2 separate regions of the Homo sapiens genome follow, and region 2 is linked to region 1. Evidence: promoter capture Hi-C in 16 types of primary human blood cells and fetal thymus (Javierre and others, 2016). All regions are on one chromosome and are shown on one strand. The core of a region is centred on a gene start or on the middle of the fragment in contact, and the rest is flanking DNA. Distances in the headings are between cores, read along the strand shown.

Evidence for each region. The method cuts DNA at HindIII sites, captures the fragments that hold promoters and counts their contacts. A CHiCAGO score of 5 or more calls a contact.
Region 2: the fragment with the promoter of KLK6 here is called in contact with a fragment that was not itself captured in region 1 in 2 of 17 cell types (M1 macrophages and M0 macrophages); the score reaches 9.1 in M1 macrophages.

Annotation. Positions count from the first base shown.
Region 1 is chr19:50,533,697-50,541,306 of GRCh38, forward strand. All of the region lies in intron 2 of LRRC4B (leucine rich repeat containing 4B), which reads right to left. It overlaps LOC124904747 (a long non-coding RNA gene), which reads left to right. Exons shown (of 3, transcript XR_007067300.1): 3 at 365-1,135. Among named protein-coding and RNA genes, the nearest start is that of ASPDH, 24 kb to the left of the region's middle. RefSeq lists an enhancer at 956-1,045. The HindIII fragment of the contact is 4,058 bases long and covers 1,822-5,879 here.
Region 2 is chr19:50,968,334-50,975,943 of GRCh38, forward strand. KLK6 (kallikrein related peptidase 6) reads right to left here and starts at 1,258. Exons shown (of 7, transcript NM_002774.4): 1 at 1,157-1,258; 2 at 208-258. LOC105372442 (a long non-coding RNA gene) reads left to right here. Exons shown (of 7, transcript XR_007067308.1): 4 at 1-20; 5 at 4,627-4,727; 6 at 4,848-5,000; 7 at 6,327-6,393. The HindIII fragment of the contact is 4,765 bases long and covers 1-4,146 here.

The DNA.
Region 1 (7,610 bases), core at 2,601-5,100:
ACTGCCGATTATTGCCAGAGCTGTGCTAAATGCTCTGAGGTATGATCTCATTTAATCTTTGTGGAAATTCTGTCACATGGGGGTTATCAAGCACATACCCCTGCTCCCTTCATATCTGGTGGTTCATAGCTGAGAAAATGAAGGTTCAGAGAAGTAAAGTCACTTGTCCCCAGTCTCACAGGCTCCAAAGTTGCAGAACCAAGACTCAACGTCTCCTTCTCCTGAGCACAGACATGGGAGTCTCCACCACACCTACCCACCCTAAACTGAAACAGTTGGGCTGTCTGTGGGCTTCACAATGCTTTTTGAGCTGTGGGGCCCATTCATTCTTACATTACCATGTATTGTTTCGCTCATTTGACAGGTTATTTTTTGAGAGCTGCTATGTGTCAAGTGTCATACTGGGCTCTGGGGATCCAGCTGTGGACAAGACAGACAAAGCCCTGTCTTCCTAGATCCTGGCCTCAGAGAAGAAGAGAGACACTAAACAAAACAATTATGCCAACAATCATTTAACCAGCAAAGGTGTACACAGATCGTGGAGGCTGCCCTGGTTGCAGGGGGAGGCAGGCCTGGGGCCCCTCCAAGGCCTGATTTGAAACACCCTAGACCAGATCACCTCTGAAGTTGTGAGTGTCATCACCCTCATGGCCCTGACACAGAGTAGGATGGGCAAGGTGGGGATTGGTTCTTGACGCAGGTAAATCCTCCTGCCCCCTCACCCTAACATCTTTAGCCTGACGAAGATGTTGACATTTTGTCCTACAGTAGAGGACCTAGGCCTGGGGCCACCTCTGACAGCCACATAGCTGCCCACACTTCCAAGTTCCCTGGATCTTCAGCCCCCATCTGCTGAGCCCACCTCCACCTATGCTGGGCTCTGGGACAGATCTCAATGATGCAGATGTGAATCCGGCAAAGGGACGTGGCCCCCATCAATGACTGCCTTCTAACCCCGATGGGGACTTTCCTTTTATCCTGCAACTTGGCCTGTGTAGGGGGACTTTCCACTTTGGTTGTGGTAGGTAAATATTACTAAAGCTGAAAAAAATCCCACTGAGATCTGTTGGGGTTTTTAAGAAAATAAATTGTGAAGAAATTCCTTATTAAAAATGTAACTGTGGTAAGAAAACAATTAAGTGAACTGTTCATCTTAACATTATAAATTGTATTTATTTATATTTATTTATTTATTTGAGACAGAGTCTTGCTCTGTCACCAGGCTGGAGTGCAGCGATCTCAGCTCACTGCAACCTCTGCCTCCCGGGTTCAAGTGATTCTCCTGCCTCAGCCTCCCGAGTAGCTGGGATTACAGGCGCCTGCCACCACACCCAGCTAATTGTTTGTATTTTTAGTAGAGACAGGGTTTCACTGTGTTAGCCAGGATGGTCTCGATCTCCTGACCTCATGATCTGCCCGCCTTGGCCTCCCAAAGTGCTGGGATTACAGGCGTGACCCACCACGCCCGGCCTGTTTATTTATTTATTTATTTTTAAGACAGGATCTTGCTCTATTGCTCAGGCTGGAGTGCAGTGGCATGATTTCAGCTCACTGCAGCCTCCGCCTCCTGGGTTCAAGTGATTCTCCCACCTTAGCCTCCTGAGTAGCTGGGATTGCAGGTGCAAACAACCACACCAGGCTAATTTTTGTATTTTAGTAGAGACAAGGTTTCACCAAGTTGGCCGGGCTGGTCTCCAACTCCTGACCTCAGGTGATCTGCCTGCCTCTGCCTCCCAGAGTGCTGGGATTACAGACGTGAACCACTGCACTCGGCCTGTTTTTATGTTTTGAATATAATGAGTCAATCACAAAAGTTTAGCAAGCTTACTGTTGTTTGTGTGTGTGTGTTAATTTTTTTACATTCAGATTTTAAAAACCGTTATTTGTCACATCAACTGTCTTTATGATGACTTCTCATATTTCTTGCTTGTCCCTGAGACAAGGAACTTGTGCCTCCCTCTCCAACAGGGACTTCCCTGATGCCATGACTGGCAGCACTGCAGGGGCCGTTGTGGGCCCCTGATTCTCACACTGACCCGGCTCAGGCCTAGACGTCCCTGTCTCCCTCCTCCCATTCATCCTCCTGGGAGTGGCCTCCTGAGCCCTTCTGGGACCAGGCCCTGGCCTGGGTGGAAAGTCTGGCTGGATGGCTACCCGCCTCCCACCCTTCCCCACCACCAGGAGCCCAGAGAGGCATCTGAACCTGGGTGTAAACAACAAGGGGATGAGATCTATATCAGAGGCATGTGCAAGACCAAGCAAGGCAGCAGGACTTTGCCTAAGGCACCTGCGGGTGGGGTGGGAGAGTGGGGTTAAGCTGAGGCACAGGCCATGGGCCTACACCGCTTCCTGGGCAGCCTTCCCTGGCCTCCCCTCACTATGTTCAGCTCAGCAGCCCCCCGCCAGCTCGTGCACGCTGCTACTGGACTTGTTTACCTTCCTTTTTTTTTTTTTTATGATGGAGTCTCGCTCTGTCGCCCAGGCTGGAGTGCAATAGCATGATCTCAGCTCACTGCAACCTTCGCCTCCCAGGTTCAAGCGATTCTCCTGCCTCACCCTCCCGAGTATCTGGGATTACAGTAACACATCACCACACCTGGCTAATTTTTGTATTTTTAGTAGAGATGGGGTTTCACTACGTTGGTCAGGCTGGTCTCAAGCTCCTGACCTCAAGTGAGCACCCGCCTCAGCCTCCCGAAGTGCTAGGATTACAGGCGTGAGCCACTGTGCCCGGATGAGACTTGCCGACTTTCTGAACGACCTCTTTCTGCACGCAGTGTCGAGAGGGCAGGGATCTCTGTATGTCCTGCTCTCTGGGCCTCGGGTGGTGCCTGGCACACACTAGGTGCTCAATAAACAAATCAGGGCTGCACTGAATGCTGCAGATGGATTAGCCGGGGCTGTTCAGACACAGGAGGGACAGCCCATGCAGGGAGAAAGATGCACGGGTCTCAGCTCAGCTCCTAGACTCGCCACGGGGTGGTGACGAGACCACGGCATCCTTGTGAGGATTAAACTGTCTCGATATCTGTAAGCCATGGAGAAGAGCGCCTGGCACAGGGCAAGCACATCTGTCTGTGACTATTTAAAGGCAGGGCAAGTTTCTGGAAGGGTGGGAAGGAAGGGGCTGGGGTAGCTTCTGGTGCCCAGTAGAGGGTGCCCCTGAGCTTGGTGTAGCTGGGAGCGCCAGGCATACTCATCCTGATCTGAGATGGGGACAGGGTGGCTTGCAGAAAGGTGTCCCCTAGGAGGAGTTGGTGTGGCGACTCCAGCTGGGTGTGGTGGCAGGGGTGTGTGGGTACAGGCTACATCTGGGAGGCTAGGAAGAAGCTGGGGCTTCCAGATGAGCAAGGACAAGGCCAGAGCCAGGCTGGGCTGTGGGGATGTAGACTGGGACTCAGTGGCAGTTCTGAGACTGAGTCACCAGGGTGCAGCGCCAGGGATAGCTACGAATTAGGAAGCATTACGAATCGCGTTGAAAAAACCAAGTTCTGCAGCCAGCCTGCCTGGGCCGAGTCCCAGCTCCGTTACTAACCATGGGACCAGGACCGTTTGCAAGTGTCTTAACTCTCCTATGCCTCAGTTTCCTCATCTGTAACATGAGAAGAATAGGACCTACTCAGGGGGCTGTCGTGAGGCTGAAATTCACTGACCCTGTAAAGGGCTTGGAGCAATGCTGGGGGCCCGACTGACATTCTCCCGCCCACCCTCGCTGAGCTGTAGAAATAATTGGTCTATTTTCTAGACGAGAAGGCAGGCTCAGAGAGGTGACTCAACGCCTTAGCGTCATTCGTGGAGGGGAGAACGCGGGTCTTGTGCCTCTCAGGACTCGCAGGCTGCTCAACAGAGATGTGGGACTGATACTCCCACCCAGCAGCCTGTCCCGAGGCTCAGGGGCCATGTGGCTTTGCAGGACGCCAAGCAATTCTACGCCTTTGTCAATTTAACTTTAACAGGTGTGAGCCACCGCGCCCGGCCGACTGTTCTTTTCTGTAAGTGTGCTGTGAGTCATCATGAGAAAAAGTTAAGAAGAAACTGACAAAGTATGGGAAATCCTATTTGAAAAGGGTAGAAACTGAGGCTCGGAGTGGTGACAAGGATTATGTGGGCCCCGAGATGGCGCTGCTGAGGGAATGAAGAGGATAACTCAGCTGGAATGAGAGCCAGGGAGGCCGCAGTTAGACACGAAGTCTCAGCAGCCCGGGAACGGACGGCAGAGGGCGCACTGCTCCCTCCTATCCAGAGGACCTCCTGGCTGCTGGTCGCAGGCCCGCGGCTGGGGAATGTCCCAGTTGACCTCAAGAGAGGTCAGCTCCTAGATTCCCCTCTACAGATCCTCCCTTCCGCCATTTTCTTTCTTTCTTTCTTTTTTGCCTTTTTTGAGATGGAGTCTCTCTCTGTTGCCCAGGCTGGAGTGCAGTGGCACAATCTCAGCTCACTGCAACCTACCTCTGCCTCCGGGTTCAAGTGATTCTCCTGCCTCAGCCTCCTGAGTAGCTAGTACTACAGGCACGCACTACCACTCCCAGATAATTTTTGTATTTTTGGTAGAGACGGGGTTTCGCCATGTTGGCCAGGCTAGTTTCCAATTCCTGACCTCAGGTGATCCAACCGCCTCGGCCTCCCGAAGTGGTGGGATTACAGGCGCGAGCCACCGCGCCCGGCCCTCCCACCGTTTTCTTCCTTAAAGGGCTCTAACTGGGAAAAGTCTGTCCAATCAAAAGCTCCATGTTTCATGCCCCTGGAGGGATCAGCCGCCTGGAAAATGCGAACTAGTGGGTAATTTAAAAGCTATTCTTGGTATTTGCCTTGATAATGCACTATGGCCGGGGTTTTTATTTGGTTAGTTTGGGTTTTGTCTTGTTTTTTTTTTTTTTTTTTTTTTTTTTTGAGACAGAGTCTTGCTCTGCCACCTAGGCTGGAGTCCAGTGGCAAAATCACAGCTCACTGCAGCCTCTGCCTCCTGGCCTCATGCAATCTTCCCACCTCAGCCTCCCAGGGATCTGGGACTACAGGTGCGTGCCACCACACCTGGCTAATTTTTGTATTTTTAGTAGAGATGGGGTCTTGCTATGTTGCCCAGGCTGGTTTCAAACTCCTGAGCTCAAGCGATCCACCTGCCTTGGCCTCCCAAAGTGCTGGGATTACAGGTGTGAGCCACCGTGCTGGGATTACAGGTGCGAGCCACCGCACGCCGCCTTTTTTTTTTCAAGACGGATTCTTGCTTTGTCGCCAGGCTGGAGTGCAGTGGCACGATCTCGGCTCACTACCACCTCTGCATCCTGGGTTCAAGCGATTCTCCTGCCTCAGCCTCCCAAGTAGCCAGGTGCCCGCCACCACACCCGGCTAATTTTTGTATTTTTAGTAGAGACAGGGTTTCACCATGTTGGCCAGGATGGTCTCGAACTCCTGACCTTGTGATCCACCTGCCTTGGCTTCCCAAAGTGCTGGGATTACAGGCGTGAGCCACCGTGCCCGGCCAGGTTTTGTTTTTTGTTTTTGCAACAGAATTACCATCCTGTAGCTGCCCCACTTTGGCTGTCTGGGCCTGGCTTCTCCACACTGACTCTCAGGGTGGGACAGACATATATACCTTCTGAGGCACATGGCAAGCCCATGGGGGCTACAGCTTGCTGGGCGACCTTGGATAAGTCACTCAGAGCCTGTGCCTCCATTTCCACGTCCATAAGATGGGAGAAGTCATCCTGCCCTCACAGGAATAAATGGGGTTAGATGAGCGCTCCCTGACCCCCTGCTCCAGATAAATGCTTTGAAATTTTTGTTTCTTTTTCCTCATTTAGGAAAAGGTGAGCAAATTCCAGTATAGCCTTTTTTTTTTCTTTCCAGCTTGCATAGGATTTTATACTTAGTATTTTTAAAGCTTAATTTGTTCTGATTATAAAAGTTATTGGCTGGGTGTGGTGGCTCACACATGTAATCCCAGCACTTTGGGAGGCCGAGGCAGGTGGATCACAAGGTCAGGAGTTCGAGACCAGCCTGGCCAGCATGGTGAAACCCCGTCTCTACCAAAAATACAAAAATCAGCAGGGCGTGGTGGCAGGTGCCTGTAGTCCCAGCTACTCGGGAGGCTGAGGCAGGAGAATTGCTTGAACCCGAGAGGTGGAAGTTGCAGTGAACCGAGATCGCGCCACTGCACTCCAGCCTGGGGGACAGTGCGAGACTCCATCTCAAAAAAAAAAAAAAAAGTTATTAAATGCTCTCACTGAAGAAAATCTAGAGAATAAAGAAAACATAAAGAAGAAATTAAATATCCCTGTAATACTAATGCAAAGAGAAAAGACCCTGTTGACCTTCCTGGGTGTTTCTCGGTCTTTTAAAATATATTGCTTAAGTTTTAAAAGTGAATTGGAGATCCTATTCACATTCTTTGAAAGCTCAGTATTACGTTTTGAGCATTTCCCCATGTCATCCACTATTATTTGAAACTCTGTTTTAAATAGCTGCATAATATTCCATTGTAATGGGCACAGTGATTCATTGAACCCAGGGGTCCGCAACCCCTAGGCCACAGACCGGTACTGGTGGGTGGCCTGTTAGGAACCAGGCTGCACAGAAGGAGGTGAGCAGCAGGCGAGCGAGCATTACTGTCTGAGCTCTGCCTCCTATCAGATCACTGGCGGCATTACATTCTCTTTTATTTAAATTACAAAAAAATTTTTTTTTGAGACAGAGTCTTGCTCTGTTGCCTAGGCTGGAGTGCAGTGGCACGATCTCAGCACACTACAACCTCCGCCTCTCGGGTTCAAGTGATTCTCCTGCCTCCTGAGTATCTGGGATTACAGACACCTGCCACCATGCCTGGGTTATTTTTGTATTTTTAGTAGAGACAGGTTTTGCCGTGTTGGCCAGGCTGGTCTCGAACTCGTGACCTCAGGTGATCCACCCACCTCAGCCTCCCAAAGCACTGGGGTTACAGGCGTGAGGCACCACGCTCGGCCAGCATTAGATTCTCATAGGAACGTGAACCCTATTGTGAACTGTGCAGGCGAGGGATTTCGTTTACTTGCTCCTTATGAGAATCTAATGCCTGATGATCCATCACTGTCTCCCATCACCCCCAGATGGGACCATCTAGTTGCAGGAAAACAAGCTCAGGGCTCCCACTGATTCTACATTATAGTGAGTAGTATAATTATTTTATTATACATTACGATGTAATAATAATAATAGAAATAAAGTGCACCGGCCGGGCGTGGTGGCTCACGCCTGTAATCCCAGCACTTTGGGAGGCCAAAGCAGGCGGATCATGAGGTCAGGAGATCGAGACCATCCTGGCTAACATGGTGAAACCCTATCTCTACTAAAAATACAAAAAAAGTAGCCGGGCGTGCTGGTGGGTGCCTGTAGTCCCAGCTACTCGGGAGGCTGAAGCAGGAGAATGGCGTGAACCCGGGAGGCGGAGCTTGCAGTGAGCCGAGATGGCGCTACTGCACTCCAGCCTGGGCGAAAATGAGAGGCTCTGTCTCAAAAAAAAAAAGAAAAGAAAAGAAAAGAAAAATTAGCCGCTCACAGTGGGGTGTGCCTGTAATCCCAGCTACTCGGGAGGCTGAGGCAGGAGAATCGCTTGAACCTGGGAGGCGGAGGTTGCA
Region 2 (7,610 bases), core at 8-2,507, 430 kb after region 1:
CACTGGTCCAGTAACCCATGGTGAGATTCTGATTAGATCTTTCTACTTTCTTGGGCACTGATTTGCCTTCCTGTCGACAGGAGAGGGTTACCCTAGGGGGCCCTAGCGTTCTTCCTCTGTATGGGAGTTTTCCTCGGAGCCTGGCTCTGTGCGCAATGGCCACCCACCCCGCCCACCCGGCAGGTTCTGTGATGTCTGTGATCTCACCTGCTGCAGGCCTCCGGGCTCCGGGGATTCTTGAGTCGGGGGAAGGAACAGCTTTGAGACGAGGAGGCAGAAAGAGTTAGAAATGCGGGGAGCCGTGAGGAGAGAAGACACTCAGATGCAGTGGCAGAGCCAAGCGGAGGACGCAGGGGCCGCAGAGCCCAGGGCTGCAGGGACTGCCAGACACACACCCCCAGCTCCCAGGCCTCCCTGGAAGAGGCTGGTTCTGTCCCCAGATGCTTCTGGAACGTCCTTTTAACCCCTGTCTCTCAGGTCCCTGAGCCAGGAGACTGGCTACACCCTTTTCCTCCTTACCCAGGCCTCCCACACACATTCCTCCCGCCCCCACGCTCTGCTCTTGGTGACCCCTGACCAGGCCTCCAGGGAAGGGAGCACTGGTCCCTGAGTGCAGTGAGGGCCTGGACTCCTGGGTCTGAGGGAGGAGGGGCTTGGGGGCCTGGACTCCTGAGTCTGAGGGAGGAGGGGCTGGGGGCCTGGACCCTTGCGTCTGAGGGAGGAGGGGCTTGGGGCCTGGACTCCTGGGTCTGAGGGAGGAGGTGAGAACTTGGACTCCTGGGTCTGAGGGAGGAGGGGCTGGGGGCCTGGACTCCTGAGTCTGAGGGAGGAGGTGGGAACTTGGACTCCTGGGTCTGAGGGAGGAGGGGCTAGGACCTAAACTCCTGGGTCTGAGGGAGGAGGGGCTGGGGCCTGAATCTGAGGCAGAGGAAGTTCTAGTCGGCTCAGTCCTTAGACCTCCGGGTTTTGGAGAAAGAAAGTGTCTGAAGACAAATTCCGGCCTCTGGGGCAAGCAGATGGTGCCCCAGGCCTCCCTGCACCCCCAGCACTCTCTGTGCCACCCAGGGACCTGCAGGCCCTCACTCCGGGCTCTAGAGCCCTCCGGCACTGGGAAGCAGCCTGCCCAGGTTCAGTGCGGTTGGGGTGACTCACACACCTGCCCGTAGGTCCCTCTGTGTGCTGCCTGCCGACCTCTGTGTCCCCAGGAGAGAGCGAGCCAGCCAGCCGGGGAGACAGCTACAGCGTGTGTCACCACACTGGCCCCCGCCCCTGCCCCGGGCTGGGGAGCAGGCCCAGGCGCGATGGGGAAAGGGCCCAGGAACAATCGGGCTTTGTCCGCCCCCAGCACCCCAGTGCCATGCTCCCAGCAGCTCCGGCCTCAACCTCTCTTCCGGCGGGCAGGCGGGAGGGCGGTTACATCAATGGCTTCCTTTTGTCCCTGTCTGACAGTCCTCCTTTGCAGTCTCTGACTGCCCACCTGGCCCTGACTGGAGATTTCGGCACTCCACATCCTCCTGGTCCTTCTCCTCCAAGTCTGCCCACCCCTGAGGTCTCTTGCTCCATCTGTCTCCCTGGCCATGGAGGGGAGGGAGCTTCCATCTCTCTCTCTCTCCCATCTCAGTCTCTGTATTTGTGTCTCTCTCCCTCTTTTTTTCTCTCTCTCCCTTCCTCTCTCCCTTCCTCTCTCCCTTCCTCCCTTCCTTCCTTCCTTCTTTCTTTCCTTCCTTCTTTTCTTTCTTTCTTTCTTTTTTTTTGACGGAGTCTTGCTCTGTCACTCAGGCTGGAGTGCAGTGGTGTGATCTCAGTTCACTGCAACCTCCGCCTCCTGAGTTCAAGCAGTTCTCCTGCCTCAGCTTCCCAAGTAGCTGGGATTACAGGCACCCACCACCACGCCCGGCTAAATGTTTTTTGTATTTTTAGTAGGGAAGAGGTTTCACCATGTTGGCCAGGCTGGTCTCAAACTCCTGACCTCAGGTGATCCACCCACCTTGGCCTCCCAAAGTGCTGGATTACAGGTGTGAGCCACTGTGCCCGGCCTCTCTCCCTTTCTTTCCCCTTGATTCTCTGACTCTCCGTGCTTATCTTCTCCTGGGTCTCTTCTTAGATTTCCCCGGGGGTAGCACTGTGTGTGCCCAGAAGGGAGTCAGTTTCCCCAGGAAGTAGCGGGGATGATTCCCGAGCGATGAGGAAGCTAGCAGGATGGAAGAGGACTTGAGGACTTATTGATGAGATGCGGACACACAGCGAGAGGCATGGAGTTAAGCAGAAATCGGAGAGCACTTGGGAACGACGTGGGGCTGTGATAAGATGGTGGTGCTGGGCAGTAGCAGAGGGATCTGGGAAGATTTAGGGAGGTGTCTTTGAACTTGGGCCTAGAAAGCTGAGCCAGGCGTAGGTCAGGAGGAAAGGCCGTGAAAATGCCTGGCCTGGGTGCACATGGGAAACCACAGGCAGTGGTTGGGGTGGTTGGTATGGGCTGGAGGGTGAGGGTGTGTGCGTGGCAGAGTGGAGAGAAATGAGGAGGGGGAAGTCACTGCGTAATAAGGACAATGATAGGAATGAAGTCTGGCTCAGCACCTGCTTGGGCTGGGCACTACAGGTAACTTAAAAAAAAAAGTTCTTTTTTCTTTTGAGACAAGGTCTTGTTCTGTCGCCTAGGCTGGAGTGCAGTGGCACGATCCTTGCTCGTGGCAGCCTCAACCCTCCTGGGCTCAAGCGACCCTCCCGCCTCAGTCTTCCCAGGAGCTGGGACCATAGGCATGAGCCACTGTTCCCAGCCAACCCTTTTCTTTGTCTTGCATTGAATCTAATTGTCATCTTGCATTGTGCACCCCCCATCACTCCAGGGATGAAGACTACTTCGGTATTCAGTATACTCTCCGGGTGCTCCCTCTCACATTTGGTCCCCACTGACCTCAGCACCTTCTTCTCAGGACGTGCTATCTTCACAGACAGCAAGTCTGATGTTGCACAACCCAGTGACCAGGCCCTATCCCTCTGCCTCCTCTCTCTGGGGGGTCCCTTCCTCTCTGTACCCACACCCTCAACCCCAACTCAGAGCTGCACCTCTCCCACCTGGACCAGGATCCCTCTGTTCTCTGTATCCCTTGCCCCAGAGAGACCTTCCTGTGCCTTGTGCTGACCTTGCCCCTCCTCTCACAGACGTGCCCTGGGTCCCCATCTCCCTTGGGACCAAGTCCCAGCCCCCCAGCCTGGCATTTGAGGACCTTTAGCATCCAGGGAAGTCCTGGCCAATGAAATGTGATGCCAAGCACGCATGCACATTTACATTTTCCAATCACCATACTTTTTTTTTTAAGTCAGAAGATTTTTTAAGTGTCCTTACCACAAAAAATAAGGGTGTAAAATAATGCATATGTTAAATAGCTTGGTTTAGCCATTCCACAACATATACATACATATATCAAACATGATGTTATACACCAGAAATATATACAATTTTTACTTGTCAATTAAAAAATAAATTTAAGGCCAGGCATGGTGGCTCATGTCTGTAATCCCAGCACTTTGAGAGGCCAAGGTGGGTAGATAGCTTGAGTCCGGAAGTTCATGACCAGCCTGGGCAACATAGTGAGAAACCATCTCTGCAAAAAGTAAAAAAATTAGCCAGATGTGGTGGTGCACACTTGTAGTCCCAGCTACTCCGGAGGCTGAGGCGGGAGAATTGCTGAGCCTGGGAGGTCGAGCCTGCAGTGAGCTGTGACTATACCACTGCACCCCAGCCTGACATGGCTGGGCAAGGTGGCTCATGCCTGTAATCCAAGCACTTTGGGAGGCAGAGGTGGGAAGATCACTTGAGCCTAGGAGTTCGAGACCAGCCTGGACAATATAGTGAGACCCTATCTCTAAAAAAAAAAACAAAAAAAAGAAAAGAAAAAAATTACCTAGGTGTGGTGGCACACATCTGTGGTCCCAGCTATGCAGAAGGCTGAGGTGGGATAGTTGCTTGAGCCTGGAGGCCCAGGTTGCAGTAAGCCATAATCACGCCACTGCACTTCAGTGTGACAGAGCCAGACCCTGTCAAAAATTTTTTTAAAAGGAGTCCTGAGTGGTGAGTGGCCCTCACACTGCATGACACAGCTATGTCTACGTCTCCGTGTGGCTCCAGCTTTCTAGAACACATCAAGCTTCCCTGACCCATGCCATGCCCTCTGGCCTCTGGCCCTTCACTGAATGCTATTCCCTCTTCTTCTTGAGATGGAGTCTCGCTCTGTCGCCCAGGCTGGAGTGATGTGGCGCGATCTCTCTTCGCCTGCTGGGTTCAAGCAATTCTCCAGCCTCAGCCTCCCGAGTAGCTGGGATTACAGGCACACACCACCATGCCTATATTTTTAGTAGAGATGGGGTTTCACCATGTTGGCCAGGCTGGTCATGAACTCCTGACCTCAGGTGATCTGCCTGCCTCGGTCTCCCAAAGTGCTGGGATTACAGGCGTGAGCCACCGTGCCTGGCCTATTCTCTCTTCTTAGCATGTTTTCCCCACCTTTTCCTGGCAATAACCTGTCCTTCAAGTCTTTACTTGGACATTACCTCCTCCAGGAAACCTTCCCTGAACACCACCCAGCTGCCACCTGCTGTAGTTGGATTACTCATTCTCTCACGTAGGTTCCCACAGCAGGTGTCTCCCTCAACCCAACCTGGACGGGGGGCCACCTGGATTGACATTCGTCATCTCTTCCACTGGACCGTGAGCTCCTTGAGGGCAGGTACGGGACTGACTCATCCCTGTGTCCCAAGCAACCACACAGGACCTTGCCCAGAAGAAGCCTTAGGCAAGACTGACCAAATGACTAAATGACTTTATCACACCCACTCCCATTTTACAGATAAGAAAACTGAGGCTCAGAACGGGAAGTTCATTGCTCATCATCAAACATCCAGGAAATGGTGGAGCCTGAATGGGAACTCAGCTTCCAACATGGCGTGGATGTGGCCCATCCCTTGGTGGCCTGGCTGGGTCTATCTTATGACAGTACGAGGTGAGTGAACTTGGGAGGAATTGTTGAGAGCTGGGTGGGGAAAGAAGGGAGGTGTTAGGCTGTGGGGAGTGGAGGGACTTTGAAGAGAAAGAAATTTCTAACTCTACCTCTTCTCTGGTGACCTTCATGGTTTGCCATCTCTGCATACTTTGAATGCTTATTTACTGGATAGTTTGCTCCAGATTGTCTTGCTCTGCAAAACTCTTCACTAAATAAATTCTTCTGTCTCGGTGCAGTGGTTCACACCTGTAATCCCAGCACTTTGGAGGGCTGAGGTGGGAGGATTACTTGAGCTCAGGAATTAGAGACCAGCCTGGACAACATAGTGAGACCCCGTCTCTACTAAAAAAAAAAAAAAAAATCAGCCCAGGCATGGTCCCAGCTACTCGAAAGGCTGAGGCAAAAGGATTGTTTGAGCCCAGGAGACTGAGGCTGCAGTGAGCTATGATCATGCCACCAAACTCTAGCCTGGATGATAGAGCAAGACCCTATGTGAAAAAAAGAAAAAAAAAATTATAAGGAAACTTCATGAGACTGTAAGCAGAAAAAAGTGCCAGAAGTCATAAACAATAAAAACCAATGCCTGGGCCAGGCGCGGTGGCTCATGCCTGTAATCTCAGCACTTTGGGAGGTCAAGGCGGGCAGATTGCCTGAGGTCAGGAGTTTGAGGACAGCCTGGCCAACGTGGTGAAACTTGGTCTCTACTGAAAATACAAAAATTAGCCGGGCATGGTGGCAGGCACCTGTAATACCAGCTACTCAGGAGGCTGAGGCAGGAGAATCACTTGAACCTGGGAGGCAGAGGTTGCAGTGAGCTGAGATCGCGCCATTGCACTCCAGCCTGGGTGACAAGAGCAAGACTTTGTCTCAAAAAAAAAGAAAAACTAAACTAAACTAAACTAAACTAAAACCAATGACCATTGAAGGAAGGCTTACCTCGTGCCACACAATGTTTGAGCACTTTCTGTATATTAACTTATTGAATCTCTGTAATAACCCTAGAAAGTAGGTGCTTTTTCTCCCATTTCAAGGATGAAGGAACAGGGACAGGGGAAGTAATGAGCTTAAAGGAAAATAGCTTGTAGGGACTAGAACTGGGATTTGAACCCAAGAAGCCAAGATCCAGAGCTAGTCCCTTAACTACCACACTATACTGCTTACCCAAAGAAAAATGAATTACTTAAAAAAAATCAACATTAGTACCATCTCAGTCATTGCAAACCAATCTACCTGTAGCTTGCGTATAGGAGAGCAGAGGGCCAGGGCCAGGGATCTCCAGGCTGACTTAGTGCAAATGCAATGTTTTGTTACTTTTTAAAATTCCAGATTGAATGTTGGAGTGCCTTGCAGAAGAGAGAGAAAATGTTGCTAAAACTTCAGGGGAATGACTGGTCGAAAATGTTTGACATTCTTAAACTTGACAGGCCCAGAAACAGAAGGGGCTGGGGACCTGGGCTCCTGGGTCTGAGGGAGGAGGGGTTGGGGCGGGGGGTCTGGACTCTTGGGTCTGAGGAAGGAGGGGCTGGGGGGGAGCCTGGACTCCTGGGTCTGAGGGAGGAGGGGTTGGGGCGGGGGGTCTGGACTCCTGGGTCTGAGGAAGGAGGGGCTGGGGGGGATCTGGACTCCTGGGCCTGAGGGAGGAGGGGCTGGGGGGAGTCTGGATTCCTGGGTCTGAGGGAGGAGGGGCTGGCGGCGGGGAGCGGTCTGAACTCCTGGGTCTGAGGGAGGAGGGGCTGGGGGGAGTCTGGACTCCTGGGTCTGAGGAAGGAGGGGCTGGGGGCGGTCTGGACTCCTGGGTCTGAGGGAGGAGGGGCTGGCGGGGGGGGGGGTCTGAACTCCTGGGTCTGAGGGAGGAGGGGCTGGGGGTAGTCTAGACTCCTGGGTCTGAGGGAGGAGGGGCTGGGGGGGAGTCTGGACTCCTGGGTCTGAGGGAGGAGGGGCTGGGGGGGAGTCTGGATTCCTGGGTCTGAGGGAGGAGGGGCTGGCAGGGGGGTCTGAACTCCTGGGTCTGAGGGAGGAGGGGCTGGAGGGAGTCTGGATTCCTGGGTCTGAGGGAGGAGGGGCTGGTGGGGGGGGTTCTGAACTCCTGGGTCTGAGGGAGGAGGGGCTGGGGGGAGTCTGGATTCCTGGGTCTGAGGGAGGAGGGGCTCGTGGGGGCAGGCCTGCACTCCTGGGTCTGAGGGAGGAGGGGCTGGGGCTGGTCTGGACTCCTGGGTCTGAGGGAGGAGGGGCTGGGGGGAGTCTGGATTCCTGGGTCTGAGGGAGGAGGGGCTGGGGTTCTGGACTCCTGGGTCTGAGGGAGGAGGGGCTGGGGGGAGTCTGGATTCCTGGGTCTGAGGGAGGAGGGGCTGGGGGGTCTGGACTCCTGGGTCTGAGGGAGGAGGGGCTGGGGGCCTGGACTCCTGCGTTTTCTGTGTTAGCCTCCTATATGGGAGAATCAGAATTAGCGGCTGCAGAATTTCTGCAATATGACAGGGCTGTGGTGCCTGGGTTAGGAGAGACTCAGAGGGAGATGAGATAAGGAGGGGAAGGATCTGGAGGATCTTGGTGGGGAGGGAATTCTGGGAGAAAAACAGGAAGAACAGGTAGGAGGGCGTGTCCTGGGCTGGA